3 separate regions of the Homo sapiens genome follow, and all the other regions are linked to region 2. The links are contacts of gene promoters, found by promoter capture Hi-C in human tissues and cell types (Jung and others, 2019). All regions are on one chromosome and are shown on one strand. Each heading gives the region's core, a stretch centred on a gene start or on the middle of the fragment in contact. The rest is flanking DNA. Distances are from core to core; before and after follow the strand shown. Region 1 overlaps EVA1C (eva-1 homolog C). Region 2 holds the start of HUNK (hormonally up-regulated Neu-associated kinase). Region 3 overlaps CFAP298-TCP10L (CFAP298-TCP10L readthrough).

Region 1 (2,700 bases), core at 72-2,571, 590 kb after region 2:
TCAAGAGAGGCTTTCTCTGTCCAAAAAACAACAACAAAAAACATCTTCCTCTCATCCTGCCACCCCTCTCTATCACAGCATCCTATTTTTTCTTCATAGCAGCATCATCGTTTAGATTTACCTTATTTGTGGCTTGTGTATGATTTGCACACACACTGCATCAGACTGTGAGCATGATGAGAGCAGGAACTCTGTGTGGTTCAGCATTGTTACCCCAGAGGAACAGGTGCTTAATATGTATTCACAGAGCAAATGTTCACCCAGCAGGGGCCAGGTCCTGTGCTCAGCATTGGGGAGACACAGGTGAGCACGTCCTCGGTAACCAGATCATCCAGTCCCGTGGGGCCTGATATTCACTGTGAGTTTCACACAAATATGTGCAAGATTCCAGGTAGGGTCAGGGCTTCATGGAGAGGCACTTGGTACTACGCAAGCAGCTCACAGAAGAATCTTTTTTTTGGATAGGGTCTCACTCCATTGCCCAGGCTGGAGTGTAGTGGCTCAATCTTGGCTCACTGCAACCTCTGCCTCCCGGTTTCAAGCGATTCTCCTGCCTCAGCCTCCTGAGTAACTGGGATTATAGGCATACACCACCACACCTGGCTAATTTTTGTATTTTTAGTAGAGACAGGGTTTCACCATGTTGGCCAGGCTGGTCTTGAACTCCTGACCTCAAGTGATCTGCCCGCATTGGCCTCCCAAAGTGCTAGGATCACAGGCGTGAACCACAGTGCCCAGCCTCATAGGAGGAATTGACCTTGACTAGGGGTTCAGTGGAGTCTTTTTGGAGCAAGTGATGATGGAGCTGAGAACTGCAGGGATGGAGGGCACAGAAAGAGTGCTCCATACGGAAGCCTGTGGCTGCGGGTTGCAGGTGCATTGGCGCAGCCAGCCACAGGGTAGGAGCACAGCACCAAGACAGGAGAGAGCACCAGCTGGGGAGCCGGAGTAGGGATCCTGAGTCCTCAGAGCCAAGGAAGGAGTTGGGGCTCTATCTATAGGGCAGCATTTAAGCAGGGAGGGTGCTGTGATGAAGTCATAAAGCCCCTCTGGCTGCCCCATAGAGAGCAGATGAGAGACAGAGCCCCTGTGTAACCTGAACACCAGAAACCTGAGCACTGCCATTTAGGAGGTGGAAGTGAGATTGTCTCCACACCTTCCTGCCTCTTTTTCTGCATCTCTCACACCTCCTGAGGCTCTTCTTCTCAATTCCCAGTTCCAGTCTGAGCAGGACACTGTGATTGTCCAAAGGCTGCACTGCTGCACCCTGTGGTGTGCAGAGCCAGTTCTTATGATGAGAGCCAGTTATGCACATGTCTTACCAGCTCTGCCTGTGTTCTGTGGCATCTGCCACGGTGGGAGTATTTACACCAGGGAAATGGGCAAATGCCACTGATCGGGTTTATTTGTTTGTCTTTACGGAAAGCTATTTTACCAGCAAGGCTCACCGGAACCTTCTTTTCCCTAATGTGCACTATGCTTCCTTCCTCAAAATCTCACCTCCCAAATTGCATCCCTTCAGGAAATGTAGGTTTCAGCGAGGCTTGGATTTAGGCAGTTCTGGGTTCATATTCCTTTCTGCTGCATATCGTATCTGCTGTGTGTTGGGCAGTGTAGGGACACTTTCTAGGACTCAGTTGTAACATGGGATTATGTCTCTTCTGCATAGGGCTGTTTTAAGACTGTGAAAACACAGTGTTGTATGTAACACGCTAGCACAGGACCATGGAGTTGAGCTCAGCAGTTGGTAGCTATTATTTCAATAAGCTGATTCAAATCACTCTGCTAAAGATATGAATGACTAAAGGATATAGTCATGCCTGTCATTTCAGCATTTTGGGAGGCCAAGGCAGGAGAATCATTTGAGGCCAGTCATTAGAGACTAGCCTGGGTAACATAGGGAGACCCCTATCTCTAAAAAAAAAAAAAAAAAAAACAATTAGCAGGGCATCATGGCAGGCACCTGCAGTCCTAGCCACTTGGGAGGCTGAAGTGGGAGGATTGCTTGAGCCCAGGAGTTTGAGGTTACAGTGAGCTATGAGCTCACCACTGCACTCCAACCTATATGACAGGGTGAGATTTATTTACTAAATAAAGAAATAATAAAAATAAATAAAAGTGACTATCTACATTTCAGCATCACTATGCACTGGCAATTGTATGCAATGTCAGTAATAAAATACTCCCATCGCGGCAGATCCTTCCTCTGCCCACCTTTGAAAGGTGGCTAGTGATGTGTTGGGAACAGGCACCCCAAAATCTGGCCATAAACTGGCCCCAAAACTGGCCATAAAGAAAATCTCTGCCACACTGTGACATGTTCGTGATGGCCATGATGCCCATGCTGGAAGGTTGTGGGTTTACTGGAATGAGGGCAAGGAACACCTGGCCCACCCAGAGTGGAAAACCACTTAAAGGAGTTCTTAAACCACAAACAGTAGCATGAGTGATCTGTGCCTTAAGGATGTGCTCCTGCTGCAGGTAACTAGCCAGAGCCCATCCCTCTGCTTCGGCCCATCCCTTTATTTCCCATAAGGAATAGTTTTAGTTAATCTATAATCTATAGAAACAATGCTTATCACTGGCTTGCTGTGATGATTTATGTGGGTAAATCTCTGTTCGAGGCTCTCAGCTCTGGAGGCTGTGAGACCCCTGATTTCCCACTCCACACCTCTATATTTCTGTGTGTGTGTCTTTAAT
Region 2 (2,846 bases), core at 48-2,547:
GTTACCATTCCCCTCCCATGCAACTGTCCTGTTAAGATTTGATTACTGAATTAGAGACATTAAAAGGATTGAATGAACGTTACTGAAATAGTCAAGGCCGGTGGGAGCAAAGAAGTCCCTTCAGCACAGCAAGAAAAACATTTTAAGCTGTATCTTTAATATTGGTAAACGGGAACAATGAGACAGAACAACAGAAAACGCAGTATGTTCCGTCATAATAACTGAGGCTGGTGACTTGTAACAGGTAGGTGGATGAATATAGTAGCGTATTTAAAATTAGATGTATTGAAAGCAGGCATTTCTCTGCGTCCCTCTTCAGATGGGTCAGCGAGACCCCCAGACACTGGATTGATGACAGCTGTTGTTCCCCCACCCCCCACTCCCAATCTCAAAGCATTGCTATGGGTCGATGTCATACTTGTTTACTCAGGAATAAACAATGAAAGGAACTTTGTTAGGACCAAATCCTTCCTTTCAGCTCTGATGTTGCATGATCGGGGTGAAGTTTCCATCAAATGCGGGCACCTCAACAGGTAGCATTTTGTAAATGCCTCCTCCTACCTACCCTCCTCCTTCTCCCTCACAAGATTCTTCATTTTCGGTTTGAGAAGACGTTGGGGATCCTGGGAGAGGGTCCAGTGTCGTCAGGGCAGTTGCAATTGTTTATGCGATGAGCACAGTCACAGCGCTTGCAGAACAAAAGCATCGAAGAGAGGCGAGCGCCGGTCCACCTCCTGCAATCACAGGCATCATTTCAATGGAAGGCAAAGAAGGTGTAAGCTACAAGCAGAGGCAGCAAACGCCCTGGTTCCTACATTGCTGCTGCTACTATTACTGCTGTGGCTGCGCCTCCTCCAACACAGCCAACCAGGCTGCGTGCGAGCCCGGGCAGACGCCTGGCCGCCTCCCCACCCTTTCTTCCAGCCATCCATCTATCCTTCCACCCCCGGTCCAGGGGGCCCTACTGTGTGGCGGACTCAGGGCCGGGCACGCAACCCGACTCACAGTCCACGGAGTTCGAGAGCCTTCCCCCTTCCCCCCGCCCCGGGTGGGTGCGGCCAGTGGGGGATTTCACCGCCGAAAGGTCCAGAAAACCCAAGCCCAGAATCCGGGCAAGAGGCGCAGCCGGAGGCGGCCCGACCTGGGCGGCCCGGGAGCGCGCGCCTCCGAGGCCGCGCAGGTTCTCCCTGTCTGGCGCTCAGGTGGCTTCTCCGTCCACTCCGCCGCTCCCCTCCCCGGGCCCTCCCCTCTCCAGCGAGGGTCGAGTTTGACTGTGGCGCGCGGGGAAGGAGGGGCTACTAGGGATTTGAAAGTGCACGGGCTGCGGAGTGGAGCTCGCATCTGTTCCCGCCGCCCGCGAGCGGATTAAATTTCTGCAAATTCAAACTGAATGGGGCTTTCTTCTGCTGCCTTCCAGAGGGCGCCGGCAGCCCGCCGCGCGCTTCTCTCCGGCGGGAGCGGCCGCCCAGCGCACGGCTAGGAGCGATCGCGGGAGCCCGACCCAAGCCCGTGCGGGCCAGACGGCGGCGGCGAGGCGGAGGCTGCGGAGGCACCCGGGCTCCCGGACCCAGGCACCCGGACCCCGGGACCCAGGCGCCGCCGGACCGCGCCCCACCCCGCGCGCCCGAGCAGGGCGACTGTCATTAGCTTCCTGGACGGGACCCGGGGCGGGATCCTGGTGTCCTGAAAGGGGCCCGGGCGACCCTAAGAGGAAGAACTTTTGGGGGCGGGGTCCCCGGTCCCGCGTCCCCTGGGCAGCCGCTATTGTCTACGCGCCTCGCTGGGCGGCGCGGGGGGCGTGATCGCGGCGGCCCCGGGCTCTGGGTGCGGAGACCCAGGCGGGGCTGGGCCCAGGGCGGCGGCGGGAGAAGCCGGGGAAGCCGAAGAGCCTGGGGAGGAGGAGCTGCGAGCGCGGGAGACGAGCAGGAGCCGCGCGGGCCGCGGCGAGCGCGATGCCGGCGGCGGCGGGGGACGGGCTCCTGGGGGAGCCGGCGGCGCCTGGGGGCGGCGGCGGCGCGGAGGACGCGGCCAGGCCCGCGGCGGCCTGCGAGGGAAGTTTCCTGCCTGCCTGGGTGAGCGGCGTGCCCCGCGAGCGGCTCCGCGACTTCCAGCACCACAAGCGCGTGGGCAACTACCTCATCGGCAGCAGGAAGCTGGGCGAGGGCTCCTTTGCCAAGGTGCGCGAGGGGCTGCACGTGCTGACCGGGGAGAAGGTGAGTCTCCCGGGCGCCGTGGGGCTGGGGCACAGGGGCGGGAGTCGGCGGCCAGGACCCCGCGGGGAGCACTGCACTGGGAGTCCCAGTGTGCAGTCCCGGGCCAAGCGCCTTCCCCCTCCGCCCGGCTTTCCTGTTGGGTTAAAACGCGCGCTCAGCATCTCGCAGCCTTTCCCGAAGGCGGCCTGCGGTCCGCTGCCCGGGGGTTGGGGGCTTGGGAGGGGACGGCCTTGCCCCGGGAAGCGTCCCGCGCGGCCGTTCTGCTCGTGGAAGGGCGCCGCCTGGCGACACTAGCGCGGGGGGCGGGATGGGGCCCCTCTGCCCTTCAGGCCGGCAGGGGCGGCGGATCCGTGGCGAGGCGGGAACCAGGGCTAGAGGAGGTGGGCTCTTATGTCGGGGGGCGGGGGGGGCAGGAAAGCTAACAGCCAGCCTCTGGGGGGAGCTTAGAGTCTGATCCCCGTCCTGGGCTCTCGGAGGAGGTGGGAGAAGGCTGAGATCCTGCATTCCTTCCCACCTGTGGGCTCCGGCAGCTAGGGAATGTTTTTTGGCAGCTAGGGAATTTTTCGTGCTCAGAGGAGGGTTTTTGCCTCCGCCCTCCACTTGTCCATCCCTCAACCTGTGCTCCTCTCTATC
Region 3 (2,765 bases), core at 80-2,579, 690 kb after region 2:
GCCTCCTGAGCCAGAGTAGGCTCAGAGACTCTAGCGCAGCCACGTGGTAGAAGACTTACAGGCAGAAAAAGGAAAGTGACGTGCAGAAAACAGATGTGAGGTACAGAAACAACCAAATTGGTTGCAGCTCGGCAGGCATTTGCCTTATTTGAACATAGTTTGAACAGTTAGCCCTTGATTGGCCAAAACTTGGTGATTGGCACAAAAGTAGGCTTCAGTCTGTTTACATCTTCATTTAGGTTAAAGTTCACTATGTACAGAGAAGCCTTTAGGCTGAACTTAAAATACGTTAAAAGGCAGCTTTAGTCTAAACTTGATTTAACAATATAAAGAATTGAGGCAAAGAGAATTTCATAACTTGCTCAAGATCACAGAGAAATGAGAAACTTAGAATAACTCTCAAGTACTCGGACTCCAGACTGGATGCTGTTAACCTCCCCTAGACTCTCATGTCTATATTGCTTTTGGCCTATAACTTTTTCATGTGTGTGCATGAAATTGTGAACTTCTTTTCAGTGATAGTCTTGTGTTCTTATTTTATTACACTTTTTAGTTCTTCTTGAATATGGCTGCACCACTCTGAACACGCCTGATCTTGTCTGATCTCATGAAGCTAAGCAGGGTCAGGCCTGGTTAGTATTTGGATGGGAGGAATAGATCTTGAATTTTATAAATAGCACTCAGACATCTATTTTTATGCTTATTTTTAAATGTCTTGATAAAATGTTTGACTACTATTACATTCTTGGGAAAAATCTCCCTTTTTTGTGTTACACTTTTAATAATCACTAGATTTTGTTTGCTAAAATGTTATTTAGAATTTTTCATGTATTTTTCACTGGACTGTGATTTTTCTTTTTATATAACATCTTTTTTAAGGGTCTTTGTTAATATTACACTCAAGTTTTCTTGTTTTCTTTGCCCTGAATTCAAGCAGTTAAAAATCCATGGGAAATAGTTTTCCTTGACATTTTCTTTTTTTTTTTTTTTTTTGAGACAGAGTCTCGCTCTGTCACCCAGGCTGGAGTGCAGTGGCGTGATCTCGCCTCACTGCAACCTCTGCCTCCTGGGTTCATGCCATTATCCTGCCTCAGTCTCCTGAGTAGCTGGGACTACAGGTGCCCGCCACCACGCCTGGCTAATTTTTTATTTTTTGTATTTTTAGTAGAGACAGGGTTTCACTATGTTAGCCAGGATGGTCTCGATCTCCTGACCTCGTGATCTGCCTGCCTTGGCCTCCCAAAGTGCTGGGATTACAGGTGTGAGCCACTGCGCCCGGCCTTTTCCTTGACATTTTCAAAGAACTATGCATGTAATATTATAGTGACTGTTCACCCAGCCCCTTGCCCTAAAGCCTGGTAACATGATTAACTCATGATTCCTGGATAAATGCTATGTTCTCATTCCTCCATTTTTATCTATACGTAAGGCTCTTGGCTTTGAATTTTATTTCTATCTCTTTGTTTGGTTAAGTTCATCTTGGTAAAACATTAGCTCTCCCCGCATTTGTTCTCAGTTCTATGATGTAGAGTTGATAAACTTTCCCAGTAGGACAGACACATATTTTGCCCAATGTGTGTTCTCTGTAAATGCAGGTGAGGAAGGAGGGGTAATTAGAGGAAACAGAATTAGAATCTCTAGGGATTTGAGCCCTTAAACAATTCTACGATAAACTACAATTTATACAATATTTTCTGAGTCATGTAGTTTTGTGTTGGATTGCTTTCGGTCTGGTAGAATTCAGCTGGGAAACCAACTGGTCCAGGGCTTTTTTGGTTGGTAGGTTTTTCATTACTGATTCCATTTCAGAAGTTGATATTGGTCTATTCACGTTAACAGTCTTTTCCTGATTCAATCTTGGAAAATCGTGTGCTTACAGGAAAGTATCCATTTCCTCTAGATTTTCTAATTTGTGTGCTTAGAGTTATTCATAATAGTTTCTGAAGGTCTTTTGTATTTCTGTGGGACCAGTTATGATACTGATAAAAAAAAAAACCACCTTTTTCATTTCTGATTGTGCTTTCTTGGATCTTCTCTTTCTTTTTCTTTGTTAAACTGGCTAGTGGCCTATCGATTTTATTTTTTTGAAAAACCAAGTCTTGGTTTTATTGATCTTTTGTATGGATTTTTACATGTCAATTTCATTAAGTTCTTCTCTAATTTCAGTGGTTTTTCTTCTGCTAGTTTTGGATTTTCTCCTCCCTAGTTCCTTTCCCTTAGTTGACCTAGTTTCTTCCTTTCCAAAGATAGATTGTTAATTTGAGATTTTTTTAACTTCTTGATGAAGACATTTAGGGCTATAAACTTTCCTCTTAACACTGCCTTGGCTGCATCCAGAGATTTTGGTAAGTTGTGTCCCTATTTTCATTAATTTCAAACGATTTTTTTGATTTCTGCCTCAATTTTGATGTTGACCCAGGAGTTATGCTAGAGTAAGTTAGTTAATTTCATGTATTTGTATAGTTTGAGGCAATCTTGATATTGATTTCTACTATTATTGTACTGTGATTCAAGAATGTGCTTTGGTATGACTTCAATCATTTTGAATTTATTGAGACTTTTTATGATCAAGCATGTGGTTGATCTTAGAATACATTCTGTGTGCAGACAAGAAAAATGTATATTTTTTGGTTGTTGGGTGTAGTGTCCTGTAGCTGTCTGAGATCCAGTTGGTCAAGTGTCAAGTTTAAATCCAGAGTTTCATTGTTAACTTTCTGCCCTGATGATCTAACGCTGTCAGTAGGATGTTCAAGCCTCCCACTAGT

Evidence for each region. Contacts are between HindIII fragments. The study calls those that stand out against the background at their distance.
Region 1: a fragment that was not itself captured here is called in contact with the fragment with the promoter of HUNK in region 2 in 1 of the 25 tissues and cell types used here (thymus).
Region 3: a contact is called between a fragment that was not itself captured here and the fragment with the promoter of HUNK in region 2, in 1 of the 25 tissues and cell types used here (mesenchymal stem cells).

What each region holds. Positions count from the first base shown.
Region 1 is chr21:32,460,306-32,463,005 of GRCh38, forward strand. All of the region lies in intron 3 of EVA1C (eva-1 homolog C), which reads left to right. Among named protein-coding and RNA genes, the nearest start is that of EVA1C, 49 kb to the left of the region's middle. The HindIII fragment of the contact is 7,847 bases long and covers 1-2,700 here.
Region 2 is chr21:31,871,723-31,874,568 of GRCh38, forward strand. It overlaps HUNK (hormonally up-regulated Neu-associated kinase), which reads left to right and starts at 1,298. Exons shown (of 11, transcript NM_014586.2): 1 at 1,298-2,213. The coding sequence starts at 1,953. RefSeq lists silencers at 1,416-1,465, 2,392-2,571. The HindIII fragment of the contact is 17,092 bases long and covers 1-2,846 here.
Region 3 is chr21:32,562,514-32,565,278 of GRCh38, forward strand. It overlaps CFAP298-TCP10L (CFAP298-TCP10L readthrough), which reads right to left. Exons shown (of 12, transcript NR_146639.2): 12 at 979-2,765. It also overlaps the pseudogene RNA5SP490. Among named protein-coding and RNA genes, the nearest start is that of TCP10L, 22 kb to the right of the region's middle. RefSeq lists an enhancer at 1-399. The HindIII fragment of the contact is 4,954 bases long and covers 1-2,765 here.